4 separate regions of the Homo sapiens genome follow, and all the other regions are linked to region 3. Evidence: promoter capture Hi-C in 16 types of primary human blood cells and fetal thymus (Javierre and others, 2016). All regions are on one chromosome and are shown on one strand. Each heading gives the region's core, a stretch centred on a gene start or on the middle of the fragment in contact. The rest is flanking DNA. Distances are from core to core; before and after follow the strand shown.

Region 1 (3,032 bases), core at 533-3,032, 310 kb after region 3:
AGAACACATCTCTGAATTCAAAGAGCTGAGGTAAAGAATGTCAACCTATCAAAAAAGGACATTTTCTATAAAGTTTTTCAAAAAATCAATACCTGGCTTCAATGACCTGATTTTTTACTTTGCTTTTAAAATTGTAACCTGGCCAGGCATGGTAGACTGTAATCCCAGCACTTTGGGAGTCCGAGGTGGAAGGATTGCTTAAGTCCAGGAGCTTGAGACCAGCCTGTGCAACATGCTGTGACCCCCTCTCTACAAAAAAAATGAACAAATTTAGCCAGGCATGGTGGTGTGGAGCCTGTAGTCCTCGCTACTCGGGAGGCTGAGGTGGAGTATTGCTTGAGCCTGGGAGGTGGAGGCTGCAGTGAGCCATAATGGCAGTACTACACTTCAGCCTGGACAAGACCCTGTCTCTATAAATAAATACACACACACATACATACATACATACATACATACATACATACATACATACATAATAAAAAATAAAATTCTAACCTAAGTGTTTAGAGATTCTGATCTCAAGAATCCTTTCTATTCCCAGTGACCCCTTATTTTAGACTCATAAGTTTTCTGTCCCTGCAATGGTTCCACCCTTTCCAGGGCAGTTTGCTTCAAGCTGTATCCAGGATCTTTCCCTTAACTGTGCCAGATTTTGTTTCAGTCCTGGGATTGTTCTCCTTGTAGGTCCACAGTTGGACAGACCTAAATTCAAATATCCATACCATTTTTTCCCTGAGAGCTTCAGTTACTGCATCTATAAAAGAGGCACGACATCGGCCAGGCGCGTTGGCTCACTCCTGTAATCCCAGCACTTTGGGAGGCCGAGGTGGGCGGATCATCTGAGGTCAGGAGTTCCAGACCAGCCTGGCCAACATGGCGAAACCCCATCTCTACTAAAAAATACAAAAATTAGCTGGGAGTGGTGGCAGGCGCCCGTAATCCCAGCTACTCAGGAGGCTGAGGCAGGAGAATGGCTTGAACTTAGGAGGCAGAGGTTGCAATGAGCCGAGATCTCGCCACTGTACTCCAGCCTGGGCTACAGAGTGAAACTCCATCTAAAAAAAAAAAAAAAGAAAAGCGACACCTTCTTCATAGGGTTATCATAAGATGAAGTGATAGCATGTGTAAACGGTGCCTGGTACACTGCAGGTCTTCACATTGAGGGAGTCGTGTTTCATCCCTCTGTCCTTGAGGACCTGTTATTTTATTTTATTTATTTTATTTTTGTTTATTTATTTATTTTTGAGACAGAGTCTTTCTCTGTCACCCAGGCTGGAGTGCAGTGGCATGATCTTGGCTCACTGCAACTTCTGCCTCCCGGGTTCAAGCGATTCCCCGCCTCAGCCTCCCAAGTAGCTGGGACTACAGGCGCCCGCCACCACACCCGGCTAATTTTTTTTGTATTTTTAGTAGATATGGTGTTTCGCCATGTTGGTCAGGCTGGCCTCGAACTCCTGACGTCAGGTGATTCACCCACATCGGCCTCCCAAAGTGCTGGGATTACAGGCTTGCACCGCGCCCGGCCTGGGGGTCTGTTATTCTAAGCACAGAGCTGGCACTTGGTGGAGGTCTGTGATCTGATTGATATCCGAGATTTACCTGGTCCTCGGCAACGTTCCTGAGAACAAAACTACTCATCCCCTCAGGTTTTGGGGACCATCCCTATTTCCACGCGTTGGCGGTGGACCCTGGGCTCGCTGGGGTTTGCAATCCACGTGTCTCCCCTGCGCGCAGCAGGCGGCAGGTGCATGCGTGTGAGTAGGGCAGGGCCCCTCTGCATTCATTTCTCGCCGCTCCCCCCTCCCCCGGGCCTGGGGGTTGTGTGTGTACATAATTCAATCCCCGTGGGACTGGCGTCTGGCCTCACGCGCGGCTTGCCGGATTGGCTGTTTCAGCTCGCCCCCGCCCTCCGTACACCCCGCGTCCCAGGTGGCTCAGGCCCCTGTGGTGATCTCTGTTTACCGAGAGAGCCCGTCCAAGTTGGGCTCCATCGCTGCCCTCGCTCCCCTTCGGGGCCCCCGCCCGCCTGGGAAGCAGAGAGAAAGCCGGGCCCAGCCCTTCCTCACCCTTCCCCTCCCCGCACCGCCCGGAGAGGTCGGGTAAGGGGGAAGGAGTGTGCGTGGGACGGGGAACCTCGGGCCTGGGGATCTGGCTGTCCCCGTCCCCGTACCTCGCGCGGACCCGGGAGTTCCAGCCCTAGGCCAGGCTCCGGCTCCCTCCGCCCCGCGCCATCGCGCTCGGAGTGACGGGCCCACCCCGGGCGAGCAGCCAGAGGCTGGATCTCAGGGATGCCAGCTCCCCAGCGGAAGCACAGGCGTGGAGGCTTCTCTCACAGATGTTTCCCCACCCCGCAGACGGCGATGACCCCCCAGCCCGCCGGACCCCCGGATGGGGGCTGGGGCTGGGTGGTGGCGGCCGCAGCCTTCGCGATAAACGGGCTGTCCTACGGGCTGCTGCGCTCGCTGGGCCTTGCCTTCCCTGACCTTGCCGAGCACTTTGACCGAAGCGCCCAGGACACTGCGTGGATCAGCGCCCTGGCCCTGGCCGTGCAGCAGGCAGCCAGTGAGGGGGGCCCTGAGGCGGGAGACAGGAACGGGGAGGAGGAGCCGTGAGTGGAGGGATGGGAGACCCACCTGATTACCCGACAACCTGAGAAAGGGCAACCGGCTCTAGAAAAGAGTGCATCTTGAGGTCAAGGAGAAGAACCATTAGTTCGAGGGAGGCAAACAGCCAATGAGAAGTGTTGGAGAGAGTTTGGGGGCCCGGGGGCGTGTCTTCCGTTGACTCCGCCCCCTTTCAGGCCCCGTGGGCAGCGCCCTGAGCACGCGCTGGGGGGCCCGCCCCGTGGTGATGGTTGGGGGCGTCCTCGCCTCGCTGGGCTTCGTCTTCTCGGCTTTCGCCAGCGATCTGCTGCATCTCTACCTCGGCCTGGGCCTCCTCGCTGGTGAGGGAAGTGGGATGCCCGGGTCATTCAGGGTGAAGGAGGTGACAGGAGCTTGTTGGGATCTGGGGTAGCGAACGAGGCGGGGGCC
Region 2 (2,708 bases), core at 45-2,544, 260 kb before region 3:
CTCCTTCCGAGTAGCTGGAACTACCACGGCTAATTTTTTGTATTTTAGTAGAGACGAGGTTTCACCATGTTGGCCAGAATGGTCTCCATCTCCTGACCTCGTGATCCGCCCGCCCGTGATCTCGGCCTCCCAAAGTGCTGGGATTACAGGCCTGAGCCACCGCGCCCGTCCTAATTTTTGTATTTTTAGTAGAAACAGGGTTTCGCCCTGTTGAGGCTGGTGTCAAACTTTTGGGCTCAAGTGATCCACCGCCTGAGCCTCCTAAAGTGCTGGGATTACAGGAGTGAGCCACAGCGCCCGTCTGAAACTATTCTTAAAGCTTTCTTTCTATTCTTTCTTTCTTTTTTTTTTTTTTTTGAGACTGAGTCTTGCTCTGTCGCCCAGGCTGGAGTGCAATGGTGCGATCTTGGCTCACTGCAACTTCTGCCTCCCAGGTTCAAGGTAGTCTCCTGCCTCAGCCTCCCGAGTATCTGGGATTACAGGCGCGTGTCACCACGCCCGGCTAATTTTTGTATTTTATTAGATGCGGGGTGGGGGGGGGGGTGGGTTTCACCATTTTGGCCACGCTGGTCTCGAACCCCTGACCTCAGGTGATCCGAGGACCTCAGGTGATCCACCTGCCTCGGCCTCCCAGAGCGCTGGGATTACAGGCGTGAGCCACCGCGCCCGGCCAAAACTTTCATTGTATCACAATCTCTTCAAGGTAAGAGCCATGACTGTTAAATCTACTACAGTAGAGAGTTACAGATTCTTAAAATATCGGCGATGCATACGCGAAGAGGGTAAAGCTCAGCGCGTGCGCACCAAGCACCTTTTTCCTTGCGGCGACTCCTCTTCTTTTTTTTTTCTTTTTGGAGCGTGCGCACCAAGAAAGACAAAGGTGGGGAAAGTGACCAAGCAGTCGTTCAGGCGCATGCCCATCCCTAACTTGTCCAAGCCCGGTGGGGCCAGCGGCGGCGGAGTGGGTGTGGCCTGAGCGCTGTGTGACTGTGCGGACGCCGCCCAATCGGACTGAGCGAGCCCGGCCCCTCCCTCCCCCTGATTGGTTGGTTCTCAGTGTTGTGGGGCGGGGAAAGGAAGAGACGGGGTGGCTGGGCGGTGGAGCGGTGAAGAAAGAAGGCTAATCTTGTTCTGCGCAAGCGCTAGCAAGCGACCAGGAGGGGGAGTGAGAGAGTGAAAGGGAATGTGGAAGCCCCGATGCGCTAGCTGGCGCTAGCTGGGGCTCTAACCTTGACGCCTGCGCGGTGGCCCTCGGGGCCCCGCGCGCAGCGGGCGGGTGCCCGGTGCGCCTGCGCAGTAGGCGGCGGTGGCAGGGGGAGGTGGAGGCTGTGGAGCGGCAGCGGCAGCAGCGGGTCCCGGGACTGAGGCAGCAGCGGGGGCGGCGGCGGGCGGAAGCTGAGGTGACGAAGGCAGCGGCGGCGGCGGCCGTTTCCCTCACGGTGGCGGAGACCAAGGCGGCGGCGGCGGACGGGGAGCGGCCCGGCCCCGGCCCCCTGCTCGTTGGCTGTGGCAGGGCCGCCGTGGGGCCGGCCCGGCTCCCGCCCCCCGCGGCTCCCCCTCCGGCTCCTCCTCCGGGGAGACGCCGGGGGCCTGGCCCGGCCCGCACTCAGACTGCTGCTGCAGCCGCCGCCGGGGGAGTCGGAGGCGGTGGCGGCGCCATGGGCGGCCTGGCCTCTGGGGGGGATGTGGAGCCGGGACTGCCCGTCGAGGTGCGCGGCTCCAACGGGGCCTTCTACAAGGTGAGACGGCGCGCCGACTGGGGACGCCGGTCCTTAGCCCCCTCCCCTGGCCGGAGCAGGAACGCGTGGGGCGGGATCGAGCTTCTGGAGCTGAGTCCTGGCCCTTAGAATCTTGGACCCTTGCTCCAACCCGCAGCCTTCCCTGGGAGACCGCTTAGAGTGAACCCTGTTCCTCTTATTTTTGACCCCTCTAAGGCACCTGCACCTGCTTCTACCCCCATCTCCGGGAGAATGAACTTCAGGCCATTATTGTCCCTGGCTTGGCGCTCCCCGCTCCGCAGGAGAGACCCCTTTACCCAGCTTCTAATTGACTGTGTCCGTTGTCTGGTGGAAGACATACCTTAGACCTTAATCACATCTTCCCCACGATCCAAGCACATGGAGAATTGTCTTTCTTCCACACGGTCCCTTTGGGAAGGCCCTCTGTCCCGTAAAAGATCCTTTCATCTTCCTCAGAGAGGCCTCTGCCTACTGGCTCTGGAACACTCACCCCACTTTCATCTTATATTCCGGTTCCCAAGCCAAGGAGAAATGGTCAGATCCATTTACGACGTTTGGCATCTTTGACCTCAGGAACCCTGGGTTGGATCAGTCAAGTTGCTTCCCAGCCAGCCATAAGGTGGCATCTTTCGCAAGTCTCTCTCCCCACCACACCTTGATCTCAAGACCCACTGCTCTACCATTCTACTCAGGAATGGATTTGAGGTCTCACTTAGACCTCAGATACCTTCAGGTCATTCATATAGTTTCTTCGTCTTGAGGCATGTAAGCTTCATAGTCATAATCTCTAAAAGGATCTCTGAAAGGAAGCTTATGAGGTTCCCTTCTGTTTATCTTAAGATTTCCACTTCTTGAAGACTCTTGGCCAACTATCCCAGTTCGGGAATCTGACAACCTTTTTTGGAAGACGGGATCATCTTTCAAAGACCCTTCCTTATTTCACCTCCCCCTTTGCCCAGGATTTGGTTC
Region 3 (3,044 bases), core at 218-2,717:
AAGCGCAGAGACCTGGAGTTGAGCAGGTCTTCGGGGTCGGGGAAGACAGAGTCTAGTCGGAAGCCGTGCTCGAGAGCCACCCGCAGCACCTCCTCCAGGAAGCTTGGGGTGCCCACCACCTCCCGCCGCTCTCCTGGCCCCCCAGTCCACAGCGGCTGCAGCCCCAGTCTCCCATACTCCACCTCGGGGAGTTCCACGGGGCGGGGGGCCCACTCCAGATGAAAATGTGGGCTCCCCTCTGCCCTATCCCCACTGGCCACACCAAATCGGGCCCGCAAAGCACCTAGACACTCAGAGTCGGTGCAGAAAAGGTTGGCTCGGAAGGTGTCCACCTGGACGGAGCTCAGCTCATAGTGATGGGGTCCCCGGCGAGCAGAGAAGTGCACCAGGCGGGGGCTGACATCTACATCTGCGTGGAGCAGGGCAGCTGTGGGTGCAGGGGTCCCCTGAGAGGCCTCCAGTTCCCGCAGCGCGTCCAGGAGGGGCCGGATCTGGTAGAAGTCAGCCTCTGCCCTGAGCAGCGCTGTCTCTCCGTACCCACGGGGCAGGTCCAGGCGGCCCAGCCTCAGGAAATTGAGGATGTGCCGGAAGGCCTTGCCATCCCGGTCGATGAAGTAGTGGCCGCCTCCTTGGGAATTGAGGTTGGGGGGCATGGGGGTGCCGGCCCTAAACATGGCCCCCAGCATAGAGTCTGGGAAGCGGGTCAGGGTCTCCAAAGTGGTGGAATATAGTGTGCCCCCCACATTCAGGGTCACGGGGCCCCCAAAGGAGGGGGGCGAAGAGGGCACAGGAGGAGGAGAAATTTTGGGAAGTACAGGAGACACCGAAAGAAAAGAAAAGGCAGAACTTCCTGGGTGTGTGCAGAATTGGGTCGAAGCTGTCAGATTCGCTGGGTTGGAGGCACAGGTGGAGCACACCCAGTAAGGTTTGGGGCTCACCCCGGCTACTTTGGTGGTGGATGGGGAGGTGGTGTCAGGACACAGAAATCCCCAAAAGGTTGAGAGAAGAGATGAAAAGAGCAGAGGGCAGCCAGAGAGGGGAAGGGAGCTTGAGGTCTGGACGTATCCGATTTGGGGTGGTCAGCGACACCCCTCTGTGGTCTTCAGACAGTGGGTTTCCGGAATCCAACCAGCAGGTGACGGTGGCGAGCACAGGGCCGACTCTGAAGGGATGGCCTCCGAGACCCCGGGCAGATCGCTGCCGCCGTGGACGAGTCCAGCCAGGGCTCTGGGGCCACTCAGAGGCCTGGCCTGGCTGCCGGCGCGGGTCCCAGGAGATGGAGGCCGAACTGACGGGAGCGGATGGCGGAGCCCCCTTGTATCCGCCGGGGAGCGACGATGCGTGCTCAGCCCGGGCTGGGAGTGTCCGAGGGCTCTGATGGAAACAGCCAGGAGTTTCGGGACCCGGCCGCGCCGCCTTCCCTGGGTGTCGCCGCAGCCGCTGAGGTCCTCTCCGCCCCCAGGAAGTGGCCTAAGGGCAGCGGCCCGGGGCCCTTTAAGAGACAGCCCCGCCCCTTGGCGCCCCGCCCCCGCCCCCGCGAGGCTCGCGCGGCCCGGGCGGAGGTGGGAGGCTGGAGGCGAGTCTCGGACGCGAGAGACTGGGCGGACTGGCTGGACTGGCAGACGCTGGCGGGACGGGGTGACTCAGGCACGTCGCCCCGGATGTGGCCACGACCGCCCCGCCGCCGCTCAGGTGTGCCCGATCTCACGTCTGCAAGTCGGCGGGGCTGGAGCCTCTAATCCCACCGCTCAGAGCCCGAGGCCCGGCCGGCCCAGCCCGGGAGCCGAGTCCCTCCCAGCGGCTCCCCCGGGGAATTCCCGAGGGGGCGGGTGCTGAGCCGCCGCATTCCGGGGATGCCTTCCAGCCGGGGTGGCCCGGGCGCGCTCTCTCCGCGGCGGCGCGGGGCCAGCGAGCCCCAGGGCCAGCCCCACCCCTCGGCAGGACTGGGCTGGCCACGTCGCCCCAGCCCGAGAGCCCCCGCCCCGCAGCGCCCTGCGCTCAGGCCGCGGCCGAAGCTGCCGCCTCGCTCCCCGGAGTCGCACCTTGCTGGACTGGAGCTCGCAAACCCCCAGCTGCTCCCCGCACCTCGGGAGCCGCAGCGCCCAACACCCTACGGGCCCGAAGGTGGCGCCCAAGAAGTGAACCAGAAGGGAAGAGCGAAGCACGGAGGCTTTAATGGCAGAGGGCCCGGTGGCGGGGAAGGGAGGCAGGCGCGGGCCCCGTGGGCCTCGGGTCACAGCGTGTGGAGGTCATGACTGCGACGGCTCAGCTTCTCCGGGTCGTCTGACGCCATGAGGGAGAAGTCGCGGAAGATGTCAAGATACGTCTCATCTCCTGGGGGAGGGAGGAAAGGCCGGGAGGCGGCTGGGCCCCAGTGCAGAAGGGCAGGATCCGGCGGTTGGGGCCCACCTGGGGACCTCGCGCTCCGAGCCTGGGTGGGAACGTGCGCGCCGCGGGCACTGCGCCAGCACCTATGCCTTGCCAGGGCCTGGCACGTCGCATGCGCCCAATACGCATTTGTTAAATAACGGAATGAATGCAGCTGGGCACTAGGGAGAGAGGTCACCGTGGACCAGAAGCCCAGAGTTCAGGTGTTGGGCCTGGGGGGTGGGGTGGGTGTATTCTTTACCTGCCTGCCCCTGGGCCGCTTCAGCCTCCCTCATCTTTGCCAGTCGTAGCCTGAAGAGGAGGGAATTAAGAAATGAACGACACTATCTTTGGCCGGGCGCGGTGGCTCACGCCTGTAATCCCAACACTTTGGGAGGCCGAGGCAGGCGGATCACGAGGTCAGGAGATCGAGACCGTCCTGGCCAACATGGTGAAACCCCGTCTCTACTAAAAATACAAAAAATTAGCCGGGGGTGGTGGCGCACGCCTGTAGTCCCAGCTACTCAGGGGAGGCTGAGACAGGAGAATCGCTTGAACCCGGGAGGCGGGGGTTGCAGTGAGCCGAGATCGCGCCCCTGCACTCTAGCCTGGGCGACAGAGTGAGACTCCGTCTCAAAAAAAAAAAAAAAGACTATCCTCACCTCCCCCACAACTTC
Region 4 (3,110 bases), core at 1-2,500, 310 kb before region 3:
AAGAGATTGAAACCATCCTGGCTAACAAGGTGAAACCCCGTCTCTACTAAAAATACAAAAAATTAGGCGGGTGTGGTGGCACGCGCCTGTAGTCCTAGCTATTCAGGAGGCTGAGACAGGAGAATTGCTTGAATCCGAAAGGCGGAGGTTGCAGCGAGCCGAGATCGTGCCACTGCACTCCAGCCTGGGTGACAGAGCAAGACTCCATCTCAAAATAAATAAATAAATAATCAAGAACAGTATAAGGGGCTGTATGGTGGCTCATGCCTGTGATCCCAGCACTTTGGGAGGCCAAGGTGGGAGGATCCCTTGAGACCAGCCCAGGCAACAGAGAAAGACCCTGTCTCTATTTAAAAAAATTAAAAACTGGCCGGGCACGGTGGCTCACGCCTGTAATTCCAGCGCTTGGGAGGCCAAGGCAGGCACATCAGGAGGTCAGGAGTTCGAGACCAGCCTGGCCAACGTGGTGAAACCCCGTCTCTACTAAAAATACAAAAAGTAGCTAGGCGTGGTGGCAGGCACCTGTAATCCCAGCTACTTGGGAGGCTGAGGCAGGAGAATCGCTTGAACCCAGGAGGCGGAGGTTGCAGTGGGCAAAGATCGTGCCATTGCACTCAGCCTGGGTGACAGGGCAAGACTCCATCTCAAAATAAATAAACAAAGTAATTAATTAATTAAATTAAAAACTGTGGGGATATAGACTTACTCTGGTTTTATTTTTTCTTTTCTTTTCTTTTCTTTTTTCTGAGACGGAGTCTCGCTCTGTTGCCCAGGCTGGAGTACAGTGGCGTGGTTTCTGTTCTCTGCAACCTCCACCTCCCGGATTCAAGCGATTCTCTTGCCTCAGCCTCTTGAATACCTGGAATTACAGGTGCCTGCCACCACCCCCGGCTAATTTTTTGTATTTTTAGTAGAGACAGGGTTTCACCATGTTGGCCAAGCTGGTCTCGAACTCCTGACCTCATGATCCACCCGCCTCTGCCTCCCAAAGCACTGAGACTACAGGAGTGAGCCACTGTGCCCAGCCTACTCTGGTTTTAGTGCATTCAAGAGGAACAAAAAAGGAAGAAAATCACTAGTAAATATACCTCTTTCTGGTTAGAGTGGATGTTTGGAAATTATATATATATTATATTATATTATATATATTATATATATACACAAACACGTACATACATGCACACACATATATGCCTTTTTGATTATAGGATAGTATACCAAAACTCAGAAATATTATGGAATTAACAGAATTTAGTAAGGCAGATAAGTAGTAGGTAGAAAAATATTAATTTTATCTTCCAGCAGAAGCACTGTGAAAAATTAGACAACAAGAAAACATTCCATTCAAAATAATGACAATAAGGCCGGGCATGGTGGCTCACACCTGTAATCCCAGCACTTTGGGAGGCTGAGGCAGGAGGATCATCTGAGGTCAAGTTTGAGATCAGCCTGGCCAACATGGTGACACCCTGTCTCTACTGAAAATACAAAAATCAGCCAGCTATGGTAGTGTAAGCCTGTAATTCCAGCTACTCGGGAGGTCGAAGCAGAAGAATCACTTGAACCCAGGAGGCAGAGATTGCAGTGAGCCAAGATCCTGCCAGTGCTTTCCAGCCTGGGCAACAGTGTGAGGCTCCATCTCAAAAAAAAAAAAAAAAAAAAGACAATAGCAATAAACATTAAGAAATGTGTAATAGGAATGGCACACACAAAGAAGGAATGGCACAGAGCCTGTATGCAGAAGACCACAAACCCTTATTTAACGACGTAAGCCAAGATCCAAAGAAAATGATAGATTCTCAGATGGGAAAACTAAAAAAATAAGAAAAATCAATTATCTCGAGATAAATATAATATAATGCAATTTCAATTAGAATCCCAAATTTTCATTGTGTGTGTGTGTGAGTTGGGTAAATTTATCATAAATGTATAGGAACGAGTAAGTGTCACTAGTTGTTTAAATAAATACTGGATTTGGGCCAGGCATGGTGGCTCACGCCTCTAATCCCAGCACTTTGGGAGACCGAGGCGGGCAGATCATGAGGTCAGGAGATCGAGACCATCTGGCCAACATAGTGAAAACTCGTCTCTACTAAAGATACAAAAAATTAGCTGGGCATGGTGGCACGTGCCTGTAGTTCCAGCTACTCTGGAGGCTGAGGCAGGAGAGTTGCTTGAACCCGGGAGGTGGAGGTTGCAATGAGCCGAGATCCTGTCACTGCACTCCACCCTGGCGACAAAGTGAGACTCCGTCTCTCTCTCTCTCTTTAGGCCAAGGCAGGTGGATCACCTGAGGTCAGGAGTTCAAGACAGCCTGGCCAACATAGCGAAATCCCATCTCTACTAAAAATACAAAAATTAGCCTGGCAGTGGTGGCCCACGCCTGTAATCCCAGCTACTAAGGGGGCTGAGGCAGGAGGATCTCTTAACCAGGGAGGAGGAGGTTGCAGTGAGCAGAGATTGTGCCACTGCACTCCAGCCTGTGCAACAGAGTGAGACTCTGTCTCAAAAAAAATAAATAAACAAAATACTGGAGGCCGGGCACGGTGGCTCCCGCCTGTAATCCCAGCACTTTGGGAGGCCAAGGCGGGTGAATCGCTTTCAGCTCAGGAGTTCCGGACCAGTCTGGGCAACATGGCAAAACCCCGTCTATACTAAAAATACAAAACTTAGCCAGGCGTGGTAGTGCATACCTATAATCCCAGCTACTCGAGAGGCTGAGGCAGGAGAATCCCTTGAAACCGGGAGGCAGAGGTTGCAGTAAGCTGAAATCGTGCCACTGCACTCCAGCCTGGACGACACAGCGGGAGACTGTCTCAATAAATAAAATAAATAATATAAAATAACATAAATAATAAAATTGTAAATAATAAGTAAATAATAAGCAACAGAATGGAGAGGGGGTCCTATTTGCCTTGCCAGATTTTAGAGAACTTAGTATAGGCTAGGCAGGTGCAGTGGCTCACGCCTGTAATCCCAGCACTTTGGGAGTCCAAGGCAGTGGATCACATGAGGTCAGGAGTTCAAGACCAGCCTGACCAACATGGTGAAACCCCATCTCTACTAAAAATACAAAATTAGCCAGGCATGGTGGCACATGCCTGTAATCC

The links. Contacts are between HindIII fragments. The CHiCAGO score rates a contact against its expected background, and 5 or more counts as called.
Region 1: a contact is called between the fragment with the promoter of SLC16A11 here and the fragment with the promoter of KCTD11 in region 3, in 4 of 17 cell types (naive CD4 T cells, M1 macrophages, monocytes and 1 more). The highest score is 6.8, in naive CD4 T cells.
Region 2: a contact is called between the fragment with the promoter of FXR2 here and the fragment with the promoter of KCTD11 in region 3, in 15 of 17 cell types (naive CD4 T cells, endothelial precursors, M0 macrophages and 12 more). The highest score is 8.6, in naive CD4 T cells.
Region 4: a fragment that was not itself captured here is called in contact with the fragment with the promoter of KCTD11 in region 3 in 1 of 17 cell types (naive CD4 T cells); the score reaches 5.2 in naive CD4 T cells.

Annotation. Positions count from the first base shown.
Region 1 is chr17:7,042,842-7,045,873 of GRCh38, reverse strand. It overlaps SLC16A11 (solute carrier family 16 member 11), which reads left to right and starts at 1,782. Exons shown (of 5, transcript NM_001370549.1): 1 at 1,782-2,099; 2 at 2,355-2,562; 3 at 2,801-2,944. The coding sequence starts at 2,361. It overlaps LOC124903909 (a long non-coding RNA gene), which reads right to left and starts at 2,807. Exons shown (of 2, transcript XR_007065598.1): 1 at 2,634-2,807. RefSeq lists silencers at 2,176-2,305, 2,376-2,435. The HindIII fragment of the contact is 13,319 bases long and covers 1-3,032 here.
Region 2 is chr17:7,613,483-7,616,190 of GRCh38, reverse strand. It overlaps FXR2 (FMR1 autosomal homolog 2), which reads left to right and starts at 1,294. Exons shown (of 17, transcript NM_004860.4): 1 at 1,294-1,739. The coding sequence starts at 1,659. It also overlaps a transcript of SHBG not described here. RefSeq lists silencers at 1,050-1,099, 1,210-1,739. The HindIII fragment of the contact is 2,190 bases long and covers 322-2,511 here.
Region 3 is chr17:7,350,585-7,353,628 of GRCh38, reverse strand. KCTD11 (potassium channel tetramerization domain containing 11) reads right to left here and starts at 1,467. Exons shown (of 1, transcript NM_001363642.1): 1 at 1-1,467. The coding sequence starts at 803. It overlaps ACAP1 (ArfGAP with coiled-coil, ankyrin repeat and PH domains 1), which reads right to left. Exons shown (of 22, transcript NM_014716.4): 21 at 2,630-2,679; 22 at 2,152-2,334. The coding sequence ends at 2,234. RefSeq lists silencers at 1,389-2,158, 2,209-2,268, 2,339-2,398. The HindIII fragment of the contact is 3,784 bases long and covers 105-3,044 here.
Region 4 is chr17:7,661,176-7,664,285 of GRCh38, reverse strand. No RefSeq gene overlaps it. Among named protein-coding and RNA genes, the nearest start is that of ATP1B2, 12 kb to the right of the region's middle. The HindIII fragment of the contact is 9,601 bases long and covers 1-3,110 here.